Linked DNA regions of Homo sapiens: region 2 is linked to region 1. The links are contacts of gene promoters, found by promoter capture Hi-C in blood cells and fetal thymus (Javierre and others, 2016). All regions are on one chromosome and are shown on one strand. Each heading gives the region's core, a stretch centred on a gene start or on the middle of the fragment in contact. The rest is flanking DNA. Distances are from core to core; before and after follow the strand shown.

What was found. The method cuts DNA at HindIII sites, captures the fragments that hold promoters and counts their contacts. A CHiCAGO score of 5 or more calls a contact.
Region 2: a contact is called between a fragment that was not itself captured here and the fragment with the promoter of REG4 in region 1, in 1 of 17 cell types (M0 macrophages). The highest score is 5.1, in M0 macrophages.

What each region holds. Positions count from the first base shown.
Region 1 is chr1:119,808,879-119,814,346 of GRCh38, reverse strand. It overlaps REG4 (regenerating family member 4), which reads left to right and starts at 2,887. Exons shown (of 6, transcript NM_032044.4): 1 at 2,887-2,938. The HindIII fragment of the contact is 5,277 bases long and covers 1-3,847 here.
Region 2 is chr1:119,856,081-119,861,548 of GRCh38, reverse strand. No RefSeq gene overlaps it. Among named protein-coding and RNA genes, the nearest start is that of ADAM30, 38 kb to the left of the region's middle. RefSeq lists a silencer at 2,589-2,883. The HindIII fragment of the contact is 461 bases long and covers 1,956-2,416 here.

The DNA of each region.
Region 1 (5,468 bases), core at 1,638-4,137:
AATAAACACACCCAAACAAGGAATGAGAAAAAGGGCATTGCAAGCAGAGGAATGACATGAAAAAAGGCATGGAGGTGTGACCTTGAATGGGGTTGTTCCAGGGAGTACCAACATGTGGTGTTGATGGGCACAGATTTGACTGGATGGAGTATTAGTGCTGGAGGCAAGAGTGATATGAAGGTGTACGACTCAGAAAGATTTTCCTGCTATACTGAAAGTCTTGGTGAATGTGGGGCTCAATTGTAATATTTCATCATAAGTGCAGCAACATCAAGTTTGCATTATCAAAAAAGTACTCTGATAATACATATACTTAAATTAATATTTTCTAATGAAGTCTCAATTTAATCATGATCAGATCTTAGAATATTTTAACTTCATTCCTAACTCTCTTTAATCTCGTTTGTTATTGTCTGGTATTTTTGTTCCTACTTATATTAAAAATGAAATAAAGTTACTATTAATTTTATTTTAAACATTATTATAACTAATACAGTCAACACATTTCTTTATTGTAACACATCTTCTGGGATTATTTTATTTTTTGACAAAGGACACGCTTAAGCAGTAATTTCAATGAGTCTATGGATAGCAATCTTACTACGTTCTCATAACTTTAACATATCTTTTTGTCATACTCACCCTTAATGGTTGGTTAGCTGGGTACAGAATTCCAGGTTGAAAGTTGTTTTCCTTTGCACTTTAAAGCTAGTGTTCCATACTACCGAGCCATAAAAAGGAATGAAATAATGGCATTCACAGCAACCTGGATGGAATTGGAGACTATTATTCTAAGTGAAGTAACTCAGGAATGGAAAACCAAACACTGATGTTTTCAGTCATATGTGGGAGTTATGAGGATGCAAAGGCACAAGAACGATCCACTGGACTTTGGGGACTCGGGCGAAAGGGTGGGGGGTGGCAGGAGATAAAAGGCTACACGTTGGGTATAGTATACACCGCTTGGATGATGGGTGCCCCAAAATCTCAGAAATCACCGCTAAAGAACTTATCATGTAACCAAACACCACCTGTTCCCCAAAAACCTATTGAAATTAAAAATAATAAATAAATAAATAAAGCTACTATTCGAAAGCTGCCTGGCTTCCACTTTATCTCTCCATTATGGTGCCATCCCCATCCTTGTCACTTTGAAGGTGATCATTGCTGATTTGGGGCTTTTAGGATTCTCACTTTGACCATTTCATGTATGAGGTGTTTATATGTAGACTTTTTTTTTTTAAATAAACTTACTATTCAGTGGACCTTTTTGATTCAGACAATTTTCTGGTCCTTTACATTCTTACATCTCAAAGGTTTATGTGAGTCCTATCAATGCCTTAATTTGGAGCTAGTCAATGTGAGGGTTCAGTAAGAGACCTCTTAAAAGTCCTATGAACATCTTGTTTTCTAATCTGTTCTACTCTCTTCTCTCTCATCTCAAGTCTTTAAATCTGGATAATGGCATGGGGATAGCAGACTAAGGGTTGGGATGGCTGCTGGAAACACAGGAGATCTATCTAATCACCCATTTTGTTAAAACTTTTCTGTCTTACATCTGGACCAGGACTTCTGAAATTGAAAGGCTTGGAGTTAACATCTTTGTACGCCATTGTGCCATGAAGCAATGATGATTCCCATCCAGCTGCCTAAAGAGAAAGAGGTTTGTGTCAAACATTCTGATGGGAGAGATTCTTTAAAATGTTCTTTGTGAACCATGAAAGCATTACTTTCTCATGTCCTACCATGAATTTACACAACTGATGCAAAAATCTAATAACAAAGGTTGAGTAGCATTTTCCAAACAACAGTGAGCTGGGAGCAAGGAAGCTGGCTTCTGATATCAGCTTCACCCACAACTGTCTGTGCATTAAACTAGTCACAATGTTTCTCTAGGCCTCAATTTCCTCACCAGTAGAACAAAAGAGTAAGATTTGATAACTACTATGGTCCCTTCCAGACTTAAAGTTTCCAGACATAAAGGTCCTTTACAGACTTAAATCTGTAGTTTAAAGTTGAGTCATCTCTGGCACCTACAACCTAACCCTTTGCCATCTATACTGGAAAAGAAAATCTTGTTACTCTTTTCAAATAGCCTATTTTTCAGTAGAACTGTATTTTGGCAAACACCTATATTTGGAGTCAGAAGGACAAGGTTCAGTGTCCAGGTCCACTGCTGACCAGTGTTGTGAACCTCGGAAGGTTTCTAATCTCTCTTAAGGTTGGGTTTCTTGAGTGTGTAATGGGGATATGTGTCCTATGCTGCTCACAAGGATTTTGTTGGCATCTTATTTGATGACTTCACTGAAAACCCGTTATTGTAACACACTCTGTTGATGTAAGCTATTTTGACATGATCATCCATGTTCTGCGGGAGAAGCTCAAATAGTAGATCTCTGAGGAAACTCACGCATGTTGAAGGAGTGGAGTCGGTGCTTTAGGAAGGAAAATCTGTGTGTGGGTCTCAAGTCTCACCGCATGGGTCATAACCTATTCCTGACCCTGACAGAAAATCCTTCTAGAAATAAAAGAGAAATAAAGGAAATCCACCATACCAAGGCATAAAAAGACAGCCATGAAAAAGTAACATAAGGGGAGAGGAAGATGGGCTTATAACAGATTACAGGATGTTGTCAGTTTTAATAACGTGATGTGAAGAAAAGATTCTGTTTGCACACAGGGAGAGGTTCTTTTCCTGGCTAGTCAAAGCACACCTTACGTACATTCTGAAGCCGTCTCTTATATGATTCATTTTTTTCACTGTAGATAAGACTTTTATGGATGGATTGTTTTTCTCAAATAATATTATCGCTTTGTGACTAAAGTAAAGATTATTAATTCCTGAGGCAAGAAGATATAAAAGCTCCAGAAACGTTGACTGGGACCACTGGAGACACTGAAGAAGGCAGGGGCCCTTAGAGTCTTGGTTGCCAAACAGGTAATCCTCCTCGCGGTTGATGATGGGGGACTTTCTTTAAACATCTGTTTTCCTCTGTCAGCTATTAGCCAGGCCAGAAATGACAAATTGTATTTCTAGTGAGGCTTGTCAGGCTTTCTGTTGCTGTGTTGTTTGATTTAAATTATTTACCTTCTTTTCTTCCTTCACTGCAAAGAGCATTGGCTTTGGTGTCAAGCTGTTGGGTTAAATCTTGGCTCTGCAGTCTGGTAGCTGGGAAACTTTAGAAAAGTTACTCAATCATAAGTGTCAGTGTCTTCATTTGTAACATGCATTCATGAGATCTACAGTGCAGGTTTTTTGTTTTTGTTTCTGTTTTTGTTTTTGTTTTTGTTTTTTTATGGAGTCTTGCTCTGTCTCCCAGGCTGGAGAGCAATGGTGCAATCTTGGCTCACTGCAACTTCTGCCTCCCAGGTTCAAGTGATTCTCCTGCCTCAGCCTCCTGAGTAGCTGTGATTACAGGCACTTGCCACCACGCCCAGCTAATTTTTGTATTTTTTAATAGAGACAGGGTTGTGCCATGTTGGCCAGGCTGGTCTTGAACTCCTGACCTCAGGTGATCCACCTGCCTCAGCCTCTCAAAGTGCTGGGATTTCAGCCATGAGCCACCACACCCGGCCCAGTGCAGCTTACTTATGAACATGACATGCAGACATTCAATGAATATCAGTTCACTAAAAATTATTCACAGATTAGTAAAAAAGATGCTGCCTCTCCCTTCCCCCAGATGGTCACCTTGACAGAGAAATTCTGTTTGCGTTTTAAAGGGGTTTGAGGACATTGAAAATACACTATTACTTTTGGAAGGAAAGTTTAGCAAAGTGCAAGGTTCACGCAATGATTTAAAAAGAAGTAAGGGGTGGGGAAGGTCACATCCACACTCTCCAAGCTTTGTCTCATTCTCAGTTAATGTTGCCTTAAAGTGTTCAGATGGACCCCAGAATTGATTTTCCAGAAAAGTCATCATTTACATTATTCTCTTTAAGCAATCCATTATTTGAGAGTTAGATTGTATATTCAGATTTTTTAATCATAAAGTATGATTAAATGTGAATTCAATGAATTAACTCATTTTAAGAATTATTTGGGAGGGAAATCCAGAACTCAGTTTCATACTTATGTTAAAACAAAGCCCAGACAGATGAAAATAGAACAGTGATAAATATTTTAACCTTATGTGACAGTAATGGCCAGTCTTTTGATATAAATTTAAAAATTATTTTTAAAAACATAAAAAATAACAATATTTTTGAAAATTTCAGAATGGCAAAAATTATAATAAGTAAGAGAAAAATACAAACTGAGAAATACTATTAGTAACACGTGAAAGGCAATAAACATACAAAAAAGATCTCACAAATAAACATACAAAAAAGATCTCACAAACAATGAAATAGAAAAATGTGCAAAACTGTAAAATGAAAATTCACCAAATACTAAAAGCAAATCATTATATAAAAAGATGTTCAACTTCATTAGTAATTATAAAATATTTTAAAACACTAAGGTTCTTCTTTAATATACCAAAATTAGCCAAAAACTTGACAAAATTAAGCATTCTCTGGGAGCTTAGGGAACCAATCCTTTTAGTGCCCTATTAATGAGGTAAATATCACAGCCCATACATTTTAACAAAGGGTATTAAAATGACAATGTGCATGTTGTGTGATGCCACAACCCTATATATGAGAATTTATACTAAAGAAAAAATAAAAAATGCATGAAAGTTATGTGAGTGCAAGACAATGTATTACAATTAATCTGTTTCTGAGAAACAAAACCAGGCTATAGGACTATATGATCTTATTTTTATAAAATTGTACACAGAGAGAGGTGCATAGAAAGATATCTGTAGGCTACTCACCAAATTATCTCCTGGAGATGGGATTTACTTCTTATTTTCTAGTTTTGCATTGATTTTCTAATAGCTCATGTGTTGTTTGCTAATGGGGAAAAGATAAAGCCATGTTCTTTATTTTTAAAAATGATGTCAACTAAGTGTAAAGGAAAGAGTGCTGATGGAGTCAGATCTGCTTATAGCTGGTGTCCATGAACAAATGACTTCATACTTACTGACCTCAGGTTTTCTCATCTGTAAAATGTGGGTATTGGACACTGTGCTCACGTTTAATTTTAACATTTAAAAATTCAATGTCGGAGCCATTCTATTGGATTTTCTTGACAACAGAATGCCCATATCCGTCTTACCTGTGAGGAAGCTTGCCTTGGGCGCCCTCTGCTGGCCCTCCTGAAGCTAACAGGGGCGAGTGCTCGGTGGTTTACAAATTGCCTCCATGCAGACTATGAAACTGTTCAGCCTGCTATAGTTAGATCTCTGGCACTGGCCCAGGAGGTCTTGCAGGTAAGAACAAAATCTCTTAAAATTTTCTAACCTGTACATCTAACTTGAGATTCCCTTCATTATAAAGTCTGGATTTAGCCAGGAAAATATTGTATTATTTTCCTCCATATGTATTAGTTGGCATCTAGATTCCTGGGTCCTTCTCACCTG
Region 2 (5,468 bases), core at 937-3,436, 48 kb before region 1:
ACGCCTTAGGATACATGCTTCCAAAAGCAAAGTAGCCGAAAAGAAACCAGAATCACAGAATATCGGAGCCAGAGGAACATTTGGAGTTAATTCAGTACCTCCTCCTTTTCAGCCTACAGGGAGATAGTGGAACAGAAGCAGGGATGGGCCTGCCTTCTGTGCCCACAATTCACTGGGGATTGTTGTGGTGAAGAATTTCATTTATGATGAAGGAGAAATAAACTCCTGTCAGCTTAAATTCAGGCAGGTTTATTGAAAAGGTGAAGAAGCATCCTGCAGAAGCAAAGCATGGCTGAGGCTTGTGGGCTCTGTCTGGGAAAATGAGCAGCCGATAGTGGCTGTTGCTGCAACTGACTCTGGGGCCTCATGGTCTGTTGTTCTCTGTGAGCACCTCTTCTATTCTCTTGTATCTTCCCTCAGCCTGGCAGTCTCTGTGTATTCTTCAACACATAATTGAACATGGCTGTGCCAGCCCCAATGCCACCTGGCAGTTTAAGTCAAATTAAAAAGGCATGAAATGAACTGGCCCTTTATAATACAGCTGTTGGAACAACAGTTGAAAATATAATATCTTGACTCCTGGTTGAGTGCTTTATGCTGAATTTTCTTTTCTGAATAGAGCAAAGACTTTGGGATATTAGTGTCATCTAGCATTATTAGCTAGTATGCTCCTTTTGTTTCCCCTATAACATCCCCTCCACCTGACCACAGATCCACTCTCCACTCATTTCCACCCTGTCTTATGCCACTCGGGGCTTGTCCCTTCTAGAATGCATCCCTGGCTCCCCTGCGTGCACACTTCCAGTTAGGTTTAGCAATGGGGGGCACCCAGTGGAGCCTGGAAGTGAGAGGAAGGTGAGGTCCGTATTTCTTCCCTCTCCCTCCCTGCTCTGGCACTGAGTATCTGGCAATAGCTGCATCTGTCTATTACTTCAGTGGCCACTCTTCCACAGCCCCAATTCTCAGTGGGTCCCATAACATTATTTACCTTTGTTCTTTTAGCTCCCATCAAGGAAGATCCAGAGACATTCTTCTCACCAAGGCATTAAGAAATGCATGGGTGAGGGGAACAGCAGTGTGTGTGTAAAGGTCCTGTGGCGCCTCTCCTCTGCAGGCTGGAGGTCATGGCGGGAGATGCTGCATGGATTTGCCCTCCCTGCTGTCAGTGAGAACAGCAGGGTTCTGGAAGAGTAGAGGACAGGCCATGGGACTCGGCTGTCTAGAGACAAGGCCGAAGGGATTTCCTTGAGAGGCAGGGACACGTGGTGGTGACCAATCATTGTGAGGTGTCTGGGATGTAATGGATGGGAAATCCACTAAGAAACCAACTTATGTAATAATTAGGAAAGCTCTAGTTCTGAGGACAGAGACCTGTTGGAGTTACCATAGTGGGAATTTATGACCTGGTATCAAGTTCAGATGAGAGGAGATTGGATCCCTTGGGGAAGAGTGAAGCCTTCAATGCTGCCACAAGTGTATGCTGTAAATCTTCCTCCAGGTCTTCCCCAGAAGGACCTGAAGCCTTTTATGTGGGTGACTGAGGAAAGGGAAATACTCAGAGCTTCTATGGCTTGTTGGATTCTGGCTCTGAAAATGCTAGCCTAAGGACACCTGCGGTGGACATGAAAATGCACTACTTGCATCTCCAGCTGCAGGAGGCCTAACAAATCAACAGCCCCAGCTGCTACACTCCGAATCGAGGACTTGATGACATTTCCCCCGGATCTGTACTAGCCCATGAGGAGGAAACCCTCATATCAAGTCCTCCCAACAGAACACTCATGATGACTCATGAGGATGTGGAAGCTGTTTTCCTGTGGCAACTGTGACTTTCTTTCTTCAAAGTCTGTTTTGTTCCTGCATATTAACTGATTTATATAAAATAAGAGAATAAATGCCTAGACTTCCATGAGTCTATCTTTTACTGATAAACTCTAGTTCTGTGAACAGAAGCTTGATGGAATCAGTATAGTGGGAATTTATAACCTGTCGTCCAGTTCTGAGACCTGGAGCTTCTTGACTGAGGGGAGATCGGGTCCCTTTGGGGAAGAAAGAAGCCTTCAATGTTGTCACAAGTGTATCCTGTAAATCTTCCTCTAGGCCTTCCCAGAGGGACCTGGTATATGACTTATGATACGGTGACCCCAAATTCAGGATGTTCTCGTCTGCTCTCAAGAATGCAATATCTTCTCCCTCAGGATTCAACCTAGTACCAGTATTTGTGTATAGCTACGCACGTTAATAGACCATAGCTAATTAGTTGAGGAATGGTAGACCCAATTCAACCATACAGGCATCAACCGTATCAGCATACAGGCATCCCTTTCCCACCGTTTCATTCTTGTCCCCACTCCAAAGTCTTCTTCATTTTATTTGTATTAATTTTCTATTGCTGCATACAAAATTACTGCAAGCTTTAGAGGCTTAAAATAACAACCATTTACTTTCTTGCAGTGTCCACAGATCAGAAGTTCAGGCCTGGATTAGCTGGGTCTTCTTCTCCGGGCCTCACAGGCTGAGATTAGGCTGGGTTTCTTTCTGGAGGTTCTGGGGAAGAACTTCCTCTCAAGTTTCCTCAGGTTGTCAGCTGAGTTCAGTTCCTTGTGACTGTAGGACTGAGATCTCTGTTTTCTTGCTGGCTGTCAGCCAGGGGCCTCTCGCTGCTCCTAGAGGCCTCCTGTGTTCCCAGTGCATGCTTCCTCCAGCCAGCAGAGAGAATCGCCCTGCATGGAAACCCTCCTGCACTTCACATCTCTCCAGGAAGACCTCAGTCCCCCCAAGGAACTCACCTTCATTAGGTCAAGCTCATAAGATAATCTCTATCTTAGATTTGACTGATTTGGGATCTCGATTACATCTGCTGACTTGTTTTTGCCACAAATTGTAACAGAATCACAGGAGTGATAGCTCATCACTGGCTTTGTCTACACTCAGGAAGAAGTGATTATATAAGAGCAAAGATCACTGGGGGTCATCTTAGGATTCTGTCTACCATAATATTATAAAGACACAATAATTAAAGAGTATAACAGATTTCTGCTTCTGTCTGTTAGAATAAATCATATCAGACCAATCCTGCCTCCATAAACAACCATAAAATTGTTTTCAGACAGTGGACAACAGGCAGTACAACAGGATACTTAAGGGAGAAGCCCTGTGATTTCCTAGTTCTTTGTCTGGGAAGAATTTCTCAGCAGCTGCACAGTGGGCTAGAGTCCACTCAGAGCAGGGCAGCCCCACTGAGCTGAGAAAGAAGGCAGAGATCAGAGTTCAAGGCCACTGAAGAAATTGCAATCTGCAGGGCAGGGCACCAATAGGAGACAGCTGTTCAGAGGGGGAGCTCTCGAAGTCCATGTGGGGTTCCATGTGCATACTTATCAAGGACTAGACTGTACCTGCACGAGGAAAAGACTAACAGATTTAACAGAGGGGTGGCTGTTATAAAATTGAGTTTGGACCAGCGGTACTTGAGGTGGAGGAGGATTGGGGAATGGATGATGGAGTTCCTGCCATCCAGGGTGGGAAGAACCCATGCACACCTCATTAGCACCCAGGTATCCAACTAAGACACTAGAATGGCTGTGCTTTAGGAATAAGTGTCATGCTTTAAAACCCCTTCTAGACCAGCCCTAGTAAAGCCTGAAATCAAACCCTGTCAAAATCCACAAAGGGGTGGATTGGTGATTGAGTCCTGCCAAATTAGAGGGTCTTGGGAAATGCTGTGGGCTTTCCGTGAATCCACTGTAATAAAACATAAGCCAAATCCACATAAGTCCAATGTGATCAGGCAGTAATTTTACTGCCCACTAGAACAAAATTAATTCACACAATCAATGACAGAAGTTAGCCAAGTCGACATTTAAGCAAAATACGTCTAAGAACAGCTAACAAATAACTCTTCTCAAACTCACATAGAACATTCACCAAGACAGACCACATATGCTGAGCCATACTTAGTATTTTCTGTCCTTTCTCTTTGACTCATGTATACTGTGATCAAACTCTTAAAATTATACACTTTAATGATGTGCAGTTATTTGTATGTAAGTTACATTTCAATATATTTGTTAAAAGTTTATAATTAAAAAAAACTGTCCTAGCTTGATTCAAGAAATCTTTTTTATATTTAAAAAATATATTTTTTTGTATTATCAGTGCAAAAGAGAAAAACTGTATGATTACCCTGACATACACAGTAAAAGCATTTGGCAAAATTGAAAACTTTTTTCATGATTTATAAAAACAAACCCCAGAAAACTCTCAGATTGATAAGAACAGAAGGCACCAATTCCAACCTCATTAAGTGCAGATTTGAAAAACCCACAGGTAACATTATATTAAATGGCATAAGATTGAATGCTTTTCTATTAAATCAGAGAAAAAAATAGAATACCTGTTGTTACTCTTTCAATTCAGCATTATACTAGAGATCTAAATCAATGCAAAAAAGTAGGAAAAATAAATAAAGTATTGAAAAATTTAAAAATAAGGAATTGAAGCTGTCTTTATTCACAGATGATGACTGTGTGTAGGTTAACAATCCTAGAAATCTACAAAAATCTACCAAAACTAATTAGTGAGTTCGGTAACATTGCAGAATATAAGCTCAATATAAGTAGTCTTTTGTATTTCTGTATATTAGCAATGAGCATTTGGAAAATGAAATAAAAATACAATTTCATTTAGAGTAACATCTAAATACATGTTGTGCTTATAAATAAATTCAACAGACCAGACGAGGTGGCTCACACCTGTAATCTCAGTACTTTGGGAGGCCGAGGTGGGCAGATCATGAGGTCAGGAGATTGAGACCATCATGCCTAACACAGCGAAACCCCATCTCTACTAAAAATACAAAAAATTAGCTGGGCGTGGTGGCATGTGCCTGTAGTCCCAGCTACTCAGGAGGCTGAGGCAGGAGGATCACTTGAACCTGGGAGGCAGAGGTTCAGTGAGCTGAGATCACATCACTGCACTCCAGCCTGGGTAACACAACGAGACTCTGTCTCGAAAGACAGAAAGAAAGAAAGTCAACAAAATTTATTCAAGGCCAGTACACCAAAAACTACAAAAAAAAATCACTTTGAGAAATCATGAAATAACTAAATTAGTGGGGAGATAAACTTTGTCATGTATAAGAAGAGTTGTTGTGTTTAAAAAGTCAGTTCTTCAGAAATTGGTCTCCAGATCTAATGCAATTCTAATAAAAATTCCAACCGGCATTTTGGTAGAAATTTACAAGCTGATTCTACCGTTTATATGGTAATGTCAATTATCAATAATAATAAGACAGCAATATTATAAAAGAATAATGGTGAATGAATTCACTACCTATTTCCAGAATTACTCTACAGCTATGAAAATCAAGATCATGTATTTTGTTGAAAAAAATAGAACATATATCAGTGGAAGAGAAGAGAGAATCCAGAAATAGATACTCACATATATGTCTAATTAATGATTCTTAG